Linked DNA regions of Homo sapiens: region 2 is linked to region 1. Evidence: promoter capture Hi-C in 16 types of primary human blood cells and fetal thymus (Javierre and others, 2016). All regions are on one chromosome and are shown on one strand. The core of a region is centred on a gene start or on the middle of the fragment in contact, and the rest is flanking DNA. Distances in the headings are between cores, read along the strand shown.

Region 1 (4,360 bases), core at 676-3,175:
TTCTCTAGTAACTAGACAGGTGATACGCATTTGCTTGCCACATTAAGGGAAAATGGTGTCATTTGTTGCAGAAAAACAATGGATACATTTTCTTCTGGCCTAAATGAATATTTATGTGCAAACATAGGCAACTGTTAAAGGCTGGAATTTTCAAAAGATCCAAACAGAGACTTCCTGCATCTTCTGCCTTTCCAACAGAAGCGGTGATCGTCTAAGTATGAGCCTGTGGCTTCCTTTGTGCATTTGAGCATGCTGTAATTAAGATGAGATCAGTTTCTTAGAAAAAGCTTTCCTGAATCCCTCTGACGTTGCCTGGGATCTTTCTGTTGATTCGTCTTTTCTGGAGATTGGGACAGAGCATCTGTGGTCCAGGGAAGTTAGTCCTCTGGCCTCAATTCTGTTGTGGATGTGCAGTGATAAGCGGGCATTGCGTGCCTCGGGGGATGCCTAGTTCGTGGCTTCCTGGCTGTTTTGTCCTTCTGTGTCTTGTAGCTGTAGGGTGCCAGCTCAGGGAGTGGGGTGTTGGCGGCGTTTCCGCGGTTGGCCTCCTTGCTTTGCCGCACCTCCAGGTTCTGGGCATGAGAGGCCGTGGCCTCATTTCTGGTGGATAACCTTTTTAGTTTAATAGCATCTTTAATTAGATCACAGCATTGAATTCAAAATTTCTTCTGCAAAGAAAGTTGTGGGGCATAAGACACCGGGAATGAGGGAGGAGGAAGACAGTTGTGTTTTCTCTTTAAACCTTGAGCTCTAGCCGATGCATTTGTCAGGAAATACAGCACTTTGTCTTAAGAAAACAAGGAAGGAGGCCGGGCGCAGTGGCTCACGCCTGTAATCCCAGCACTTTGGGAGGCCGAGGCGGGCGGATCACCTGAGGTGGGGAGTATGAGACCACCCTGACTAACATGGAGAGACCCTGTCTCTACTAAAAGTACAGAATTAGCCGGGCGTGGTGGCGCATGCCCATAATCCCAGCTACTGAGGAGACTTGAGGTAGGAGAATCACTTGAACCTCAGCGGCGGAGGTTGCAGTGAGTCGAGATCGCGCCAGTGCACTCCAGCCTGGGCAAGAAGAGCGAAACTGGGTCTCAAGTTAAAAAAAGAAAGCAAGGAAAGAGTAATTTACAACGAAGGAAAAAAACCCACAGCACACCCTTCGCGGCTGTCAGCGCTCTCCTGATGTCACAGTGGCTGCGTGTCCTTGGGGTGGGTGAGGTGTGGGGAGCCCAGCCCCTGGCCCTGCCTCCCGCGCCCCGCTCCCCTTCTCTCTCTTACTCGGTTAAGCCATAGCGAGGCCTCCGCTCGTTTCAGATATGAATTTGTTTTATAGATTATAAATATGCATATACAGTGTATGTATAAAGCAGAATGCCTGCCTTTCCTGGTTATTTTTTGTACCATATTGTAAATTATATTATTTATTCTTTACCAATTTTGGGAATAAAAGGTGTTTTGGTTATTTAATATAATAAGAGCTGTTAAACTTCTGTTTAAATTTCCAGTTCAACTTGTAAATGTTTTTATTGTGCATAAATACATACTAATGTTGATCTAAGGACTGTCGTTTGTGCCTGTTCTTCAGGGCCGCGCGCCCATGCCCGCAGTCCCTGGTCGGGCAGGTGCGGCCCAGGTGCGGCCCCGCGGTCGGCTCGCGGGCTCCCGCAGACCGGGCTTCCTCCCGAGGGCGCGGCCGTCCCAGGGCCCGCCCGGCCCGCCGCCCAATGCGAGCTCCCACCTCCGCGAGCGGCGTCGCCTTCCCCAATCGGCTGCGGGCGCGGCGCCGACCGTTCAAAGCCTAAGTCGTCGGGGGTGGGCGTGAGGGGCGGTGGCCGCGCTGAGATAGGCTGCGGAGGGATGATTGGCGTCTTGGCGCCCAATGGGCGCTGGCGGGCGGCCTTGAGTACCTGCGCTGGGCGGGCGGGAACGGCGCGCGGCGAGCTGAGGGTGGCGGCGGTCGACATGTTCCAGGTCCCGGATAGCGAGGGCGGCCGCGCCGGCTCCAGGTGCGGCGCGGGGCACACGGGAGGCGGGCGGATAGCGCGACCACGTGGCGGGAGCGGGCCAGCCCAGGGCGTCCACCAGCCGTGTGGGGTTGGGGTGGGGTTGGGGGGCAGGGCGACCTCACAGAGGCCCTCGGGGCCGCCGCCCGCCTTTCTGCGCCGCCGCCAGACCGAGGCCCGAAGCCCGAGGGGCCGCTCGCTGAGGCCCGGGCTGTGGAGAGCTGCCCGCGACCGAGGCCGAGGGCGGGGAGGGGCGCCCGGGCTCTGGGAACAAAGCTGTGTGGAGGGCGGGCTGCGCTCCCTCGCGCCTGGGCGCCCGCGTTCCGTGTGGTGCGTTCCGTGGGGGGTTTCCTGGGGGCGGGGTGTGCCCGTGGGTGCGGCCCATTTTGTCTGTGGGATGCGTGTCCATGTTCCCGGGGGGGTGTCCCTAAGGGGTGTGCGGCGATGTGTTCGTGGGGGGTGTCTGGCCATGCCCCCGCTCCTGTGCGTGTGGCCGTGTGCCCGTGTCCCTGGTGTGTGTGTGGCCTGTGCCCTGCCCATGGCCGCGCTTCCACTAGTTCATGTGAGTCCACTTCCTTTGGAAAGTGCCAGGGCGTCTGGGGAAGAGTCAGTTCTATCTCCTGGGAAGGTGGATGGCGCTCCTGGGCTTCGCTGTAGGAAGAAGTGGATTGGGACGAAGATATCCTGACTCAGCTTTAATAGCCAGGAACACTGAGCACACTTTTCTTATGTTTTTGAACTTTTAAAGCACTCTTTGGGTATTGGGACTCGCATGAATTAGAGGGACAGAGCTTACAAGGTCTTTCGTGCCACTTGAGCAGTAAACTTGCATTGTGAAGTTTGGGTCTTCAGATGCCTGAGGTTTTCTGTATGATGAGCCCCTCTGTGGCACAGCCTCGCCAGAGAAGTAGAAGAGAATATGTGTGCCATGACTGTTAAGACCAATACTATATTGCTTCTCAGCCTTTTGGCTATGATCAAGTGAAGACAAATACTATATTGAATAAATACTAAGTAAAAGAATTGCTCCAACTTGCTAAAAATAAAAACCCTTTAGATTGGCCGGGCGTGGTGGCTCACACCTGTAATCACGGCACTTTGGGAGGCTGAGGTGGGCGAGTCACGTGAGGTCAAGAGTTCGAGACCAGCCTGGCCAACATGGTGAAACCCCCGTCTCTACTAAAAATGCAAAAATTAGCCAGGCGTGGTGGTGTGTGCCTGTAGTCCCAGCTACTTGGAGAGGCTGAGACAGGAGAATCACTTGAACCCAGAGGCAGAGGTGGCAGCGAGCCAAGATAATGCCACTGCACTCCAGCCTGTACGACAGAGCAAGACTCCGTCTCAAAAAAAAAAAAAACCCTTTAGATTTGAGGGAGTTAGGTCAGTATTCAGTAATACTTGTAACCAAATAATTACCCGTGGCAGGGTGCAGTGACTCAACGGCTGTAATCCCGGCACTTGGGGAGGCCGAGGCAGGTGGACCACGAGATCAGGAGATCGAGACCATCCTGGCCAACACGGTGAAACCCCGTCTCTACTAAAAATACGAAAAAATTAGCCGGGTGTGGGGTGGCGGGTGCCTGTAGTCCCAGTTCCTTGAGAGGCTGAGGCAGGAGAATGGTGTGAACCCGGGAGGCGGAGCTTGCAGTGAGCCGAGATCACACCACTGCACTCCAGCCTGGATGACAGAGCAAGACTCCGTCTCAAAGAAACAGCCCTTCATCCATGGAACAGTGATTATTATGCCTAGGTCTGCACCGATGTGGGACCAGGAGTTTAAACTAGTGCTCAGAGCGAATCCGGTTTCTGGTTCCTGGTGGCCAGAGTTTTGCACCACCCACATCAGTGGGGGGAGGGACTGCATCCCCAGCCCTGTCCCAGTTGTGTGCATTTAGTACGTTTCCTTTTTGTTTGTGCTGCCTGGCACTGGCTGCCCGGTAAATGATGGTGTTTATTATCACCCTGAGCGACGCCGATGTTTTTATATTGACTTTCACGCTCCAGAAGTTAGCTGCACAGGGCCGCACTAAAGTCATACTCACACTACCCTGGGGGACTGGTTTCTGGACAAGGTGTTGAGAAAGGGAGAAAACTCTTCCTTTTAGGATGGTGAGGAAGGAAAGCCGGTCTGAACTGGATGATGAGGTATCACTGGAAGCTTCTGCTTGGGGTCCACCAGACGCTGCACATTTGCCACTCATCTGAACGGGGTCGAGTCGCAGGGCGGGCGCCTTGTAAGCGTCACATTTAGTTTTGCTGTGAAGCGAGTCAGGTGGTGGCTGTAAGATTACCTAGCCAGGTTTTCCTCTCCTGAGACCTCACATCTCTCCTTTCCTTGCTGAGGGATTGTCTTGTGTTAA
Region 2 (3,969 bases), core at 1,348-3,847, 310 kb before region 1:
TTCCTGGCCACCTGAGGAGTCTAAACAGAGAGGAATTAAATTCAAGTTCCTGGGACCACACCATGAGGTGGGAGGGGCAGTGGTTCTCAGACTCCACTCCCAGGAACCCCTCACACACTGAGACTCTCAAAGACCCCACAGAGCTGTGTCCATGTGGTGACTGCCAATGTCTATGCAGCTTTAGAGACTATGACTGAAATAGTTTAAATGTTACTTAAAAAAAACAGGCCGGGCGCGGTGGCTCACGCCTGTAATCCCAGCACTTTGGGAGGCCGAGGCGGGTGGATCATGAGGTCAGGAGATCGAGACCATCCTGGCTAACAAGGTGAAACCCCGTCTCTACTAAAAATACAAAAAATTAGCCAGGCGTGGTGGCGGGCGCCTGTAGTCCCAGCTACTCGGGAGGCTGAGGCAGGAGAATGGCGTGAACCCGGGAAGCGGAGCTTGCAGTGAGCCGAGATTGCGCCACTGCAGTCCGCAGTCCGGCCTGGGCGACAGAATGAGACTCCGTCTCAAAAAAAAAAAAAAAAAAAAAAAAAAACAGGCCTGTCATCCCAGCACTTTGGGAGGTCGAGGCCAGCAGATCACTTGAGGTCAGGAGTTTGAGACCAGTATGGCCAACATGGTGAAACTCCATCTCTACTAAAAATACAAAAATTAGCCTGGCGTGGTAGCAGGTACCTGTGATCCCAGCTACTCGGGAGGCTGAGACATGACAATCATTTTAACCCGGAAGGCAGAGGCTGCAGTGAGCCAAGATTGCTGGAGCCTGGACGACAGAGTGAAACTTTGTTTTAAAAAAATAAAAACTTTTAAAATTTTGTATTTTTTTGTAGACTCAGGAGTCTCACTATGGTGCCTAGCCTGGTCTTGAACCCCTGGCCTCAAGTGACCACCCACCTCGACCTCCCAAAGTGCTGGGATTACAGGCTTGAGCCACTATGTTGGCCCAAAGTATTAGTTTTTTTTTTTTTTTTTTTTTTTTTTTTGAAATGGAGTCTAGCTCTATCGCCAGGCTGGATTGGAGTGCAGTGGCACAATCTCAGCTCACTGCGACCTCCGACTCCCGGGTTCAAGCGATTCTCCTGCCTTAGCCTCCCAAGTAGCTGGGATTACAGGCATGTGCCACCACGCCCGCCTAATTTTTGTATTTTTAGTAGAGACGGGGTTTCACCATGTTGGCCAGGATGGTCTCGATATCCTGACGTCGTGATCCGCCCACCTCGGCGCCCCAAGTGCTGGGATGACAGGCGTGAGCCACCACGCCGGGCCTTTTTCTCTTTTTTTTTTTTGAGATGGAGTTTCACTCTTGTTGCCCAGGCTGGAGCATAATGGCACAATCTCAGCTCACTGCAAACTCCACCTCCCAGGTTCAAGCAATTCTCCTGCCTCAGCCTCCCCAGTAGCTGGGGTTACAGGCATGCACCACCACACCCGGCTAATTTTGTATTTTTAGTAGAGATGGGGTTTCTCCATGTTGGTCAGGCTGGTCTTGAACTCCCAATCTCAGGTGATCCGCCTGCCTCAGCCTCCCAAAGTGCTGGGATTACAGGTGTGAGCCACTGCACCCGACCAAGTGTTAGTTCTTTTACAACGTAACAAATAGCCGGGCACGGTGGCTCACTGTCATCCCACACTTTGGGAAGCCAAGGCAGGCAGATCACGAGGTCAGGAGTTTGAGACCGGCCCGGCCAGCGTGATGAAACGCCATCTCTACTAAAAATACAAAAACTAGCTGGGCGTGGTGGCGCCCGCCTGTAGTCCCAGCTACTTGGGTGGCTGAGGCAGGAGAATTGCTTGAACCTGGGAGGCGGAGGTTGCGGCGAGCCGAGATCGTACCATTGCAGTCCAACCTGGGCGACAGAGCGAGACTCGGTCTGCGGCGTGGGGGAACCTGTGAGCAGCAGGTCATGTGGTTTGCCACCACAGATAGGGCACAAGGTTCCGTGTGAGGCCCCTCAGTCAGGACGGCATCTGGGAGGGAGCCCCACGGAGGCTTCACGGCAACGCCAGCATGGAGGGAGCCGGCACTCACCTAGGGGGCTGTAGGATGAGGCTGCAGAGCCCAGTGTGCCCGGCTCTGAACGCAGGGGTGGCGGCTGCTGGGGAGGCGTCATGGCTGAGGAGCCCACCGGCCCTGGGAGGGGCTGGGACAGCGAACCGAGCGGCGAGGTGGACGCAGAGGATGGCGAGTGTAGCGATGGTGCTCTGGGCAGGGAGCCGGGGATGGCGACAGGTGCAGAGCCGGCCAGCGACCTGGGACCTGGCGGGGGCGGACCAGTCAGCGAAGGGAGTACCGCCAGGCCTCTGCCCAAACATCTGCCATGGGCGGCAGCCGTGGAAGACGGACCCTGCAGGTGGTGGTGGTGGGGATATGGGGGGTGGGAATATAGGGGCCAGGCCAGCCACCACCATCTATGTGTTTGGAGCCACAGCGCCCCCGGTGGCCATGTCCAACACAGCTGGGCAAGCCATGGGCTCAAAGGGATTCCAACCAGAGGTGGGGAGACGGGGGTTTAACATGGGCCCCCCCCAAAGAGGCCGGACACCCACCAGGCCCTGCCGGCCAACTAAGCCATTGGCACGGTCCTCCCAGCACTTGTCCAGGCCCCCTGAAATGGTTTACTTTCTTTTAAAAGAAAGAAAAGATACACTTTTAGGCTGAATGAAAAGATGTTGTATACGATGTTAAGATACATTTGTATGGGGCCGGGCGCACTGGCTCACGCCTGTAATCCCAGCACTTTGGGAGGCCAAGGCGGGCAGATCACGGGGTCAGGAGATGGAGACCATCCTGGCTAACATGGTGAAACCCCGTCTCTATTAAAAATACAAAAAATTAGCTGGGCGTGGTGGCGGGCACCTGTAGTCCCAGCTACTCCGGAGGCTGAGGCAGGAGAATGGCGTGAACCCGGGAGGTGGAGCTTGCAGTGAGCGGAGATCGCGCCACTGCACTCCAGCCTGGGCGACAGAGCGAGGCTCTGTCTCAAAAAAAAAAAAAAAAAAAAAGATACATTTGTATGGATGTCAATCTTTTGTCTACAATGTGAATACATTTATCCTTCGGGGACCATCAAGACTTTCAGGAAAGGCCCCGCCTGTCTCTGCGCGGCCACTTTGCTGGGACAAAGGTCAACTGAAGAAGTGGGCAGGCCCGAGGCAGGAGAGATGCTGAGGAGTCCATGTGCAGGGGAGGGAAAGGGAGAGGCAGTCAGGGAGAGGAGGAGGAGGTACCGCCAGAAGGGGATCCTCCCGCTCCGAAAACCAGACACCGGGTCTTGCCCTGTGGTCCAGGCAGGAGTGCAGTGGTGCAACCTCAGCTCACTGCAGCCTTGACCTCCCCGGGCTCAAGCGATCCTCCGGCCACAGCACTTGGCTGTTCAGCGGCTGGAGGAGCAGGGCCCCAGGTCCTCCCCACCCTCACCTGCTGCTCCCAGGTCGTGGCCGTCTTGCTCTTCCAGGTCCTTCTCTAGGGATGCAATATTCACATTGCTAAGATGCAGGTCTAACGCAGAACCTGTCAACAGAGCCCCCCATCATCCACAGCCCACCCAGCGCTGCAGAGCTCAGGAAGCCTAGCTGAGGAGGACGACCGTCCCACCTGGGCTTAGAGTGAGACCAAGGGCAGAAGGCGTGGGAGTTGCTGGGGCAGCCAGGGAAGGACACCCCCAGCCCGTCCTCGCAGCCCCCCACAGGCAGTGTGAGGCTTGGCTGTTCCTCCGGCAAAACGAGCGTGCTCAGGTGGGACGCCCCGCACCACAGACCAGCAGCTGGGTCCTCGCCTCTGACACGCTGCTGCTGCCCCTCAGAGTTTAAATACCTAAGTGTGTGTTAGCATCTGTCCACGTGTGCACATTCGACTGTTTAAAAAACTTTCCAGGGCCGGGTGCGGTGGCTCACACCTGTAATCCCAGCACTTTGGGAGGCCGAGGTGGGCAGATCACAAGGTCAGGAGATCGAGACCATCCT

Evidence for each region. The method cuts DNA at HindIII sites, captures the fragments that hold promoters and counts their contacts. A CHiCAGO score of 5 or more calls a contact.
Region 2: a contact is called between a fragment that was not itself captured here and the fragment with the promoter of JPT2 in region 1, in 9 of 17 cell types (naive B cells, total B cells, M1 macrophages and 6 more). The highest score is 8.5, in naive B cells.

What each region holds. Positions count from the first base shown.
Region 1 is chr16:1,676,354-1,680,713 of GRCh38, forward strand. It overlaps JPT2 (Jupiter microtubule associated homolog 2), which reads left to right and starts at 1,926. Exons shown (of 5, transcript NM_144570.3): 1 at 1,926-2,003. The coding sequence starts at 1,960. CRAMP1 (cramped chromatin regulator 1) reads left to right here. Exons shown (of 21, transcript NM_020825.4): 21 at 1-1,555. RefSeq lists silencers at 1,553-1,952, 1,983-2,342 and an enhancer at 1,783-2,418. The HindIII fragment of the contact is 3,871 bases long and covers 286-4,156 here.
Region 2 is chr16:1,368,095-1,372,063 of GRCh38, forward strand. UNKL (unk like zinc finger) reads right to left here. Exons shown (of 15, transcript NM_001372107.1): 11 at 3,425-3,517; 12 at 2,036-2,263. It also overlaps the pseudogene TJP1P1. Among named protein-coding and RNA genes, the nearest start is that of GNPTG, 18 kb to the left of the region's middle. The HindIII fragment of the contact is 9,841 bases long and covers 1-3,969 here.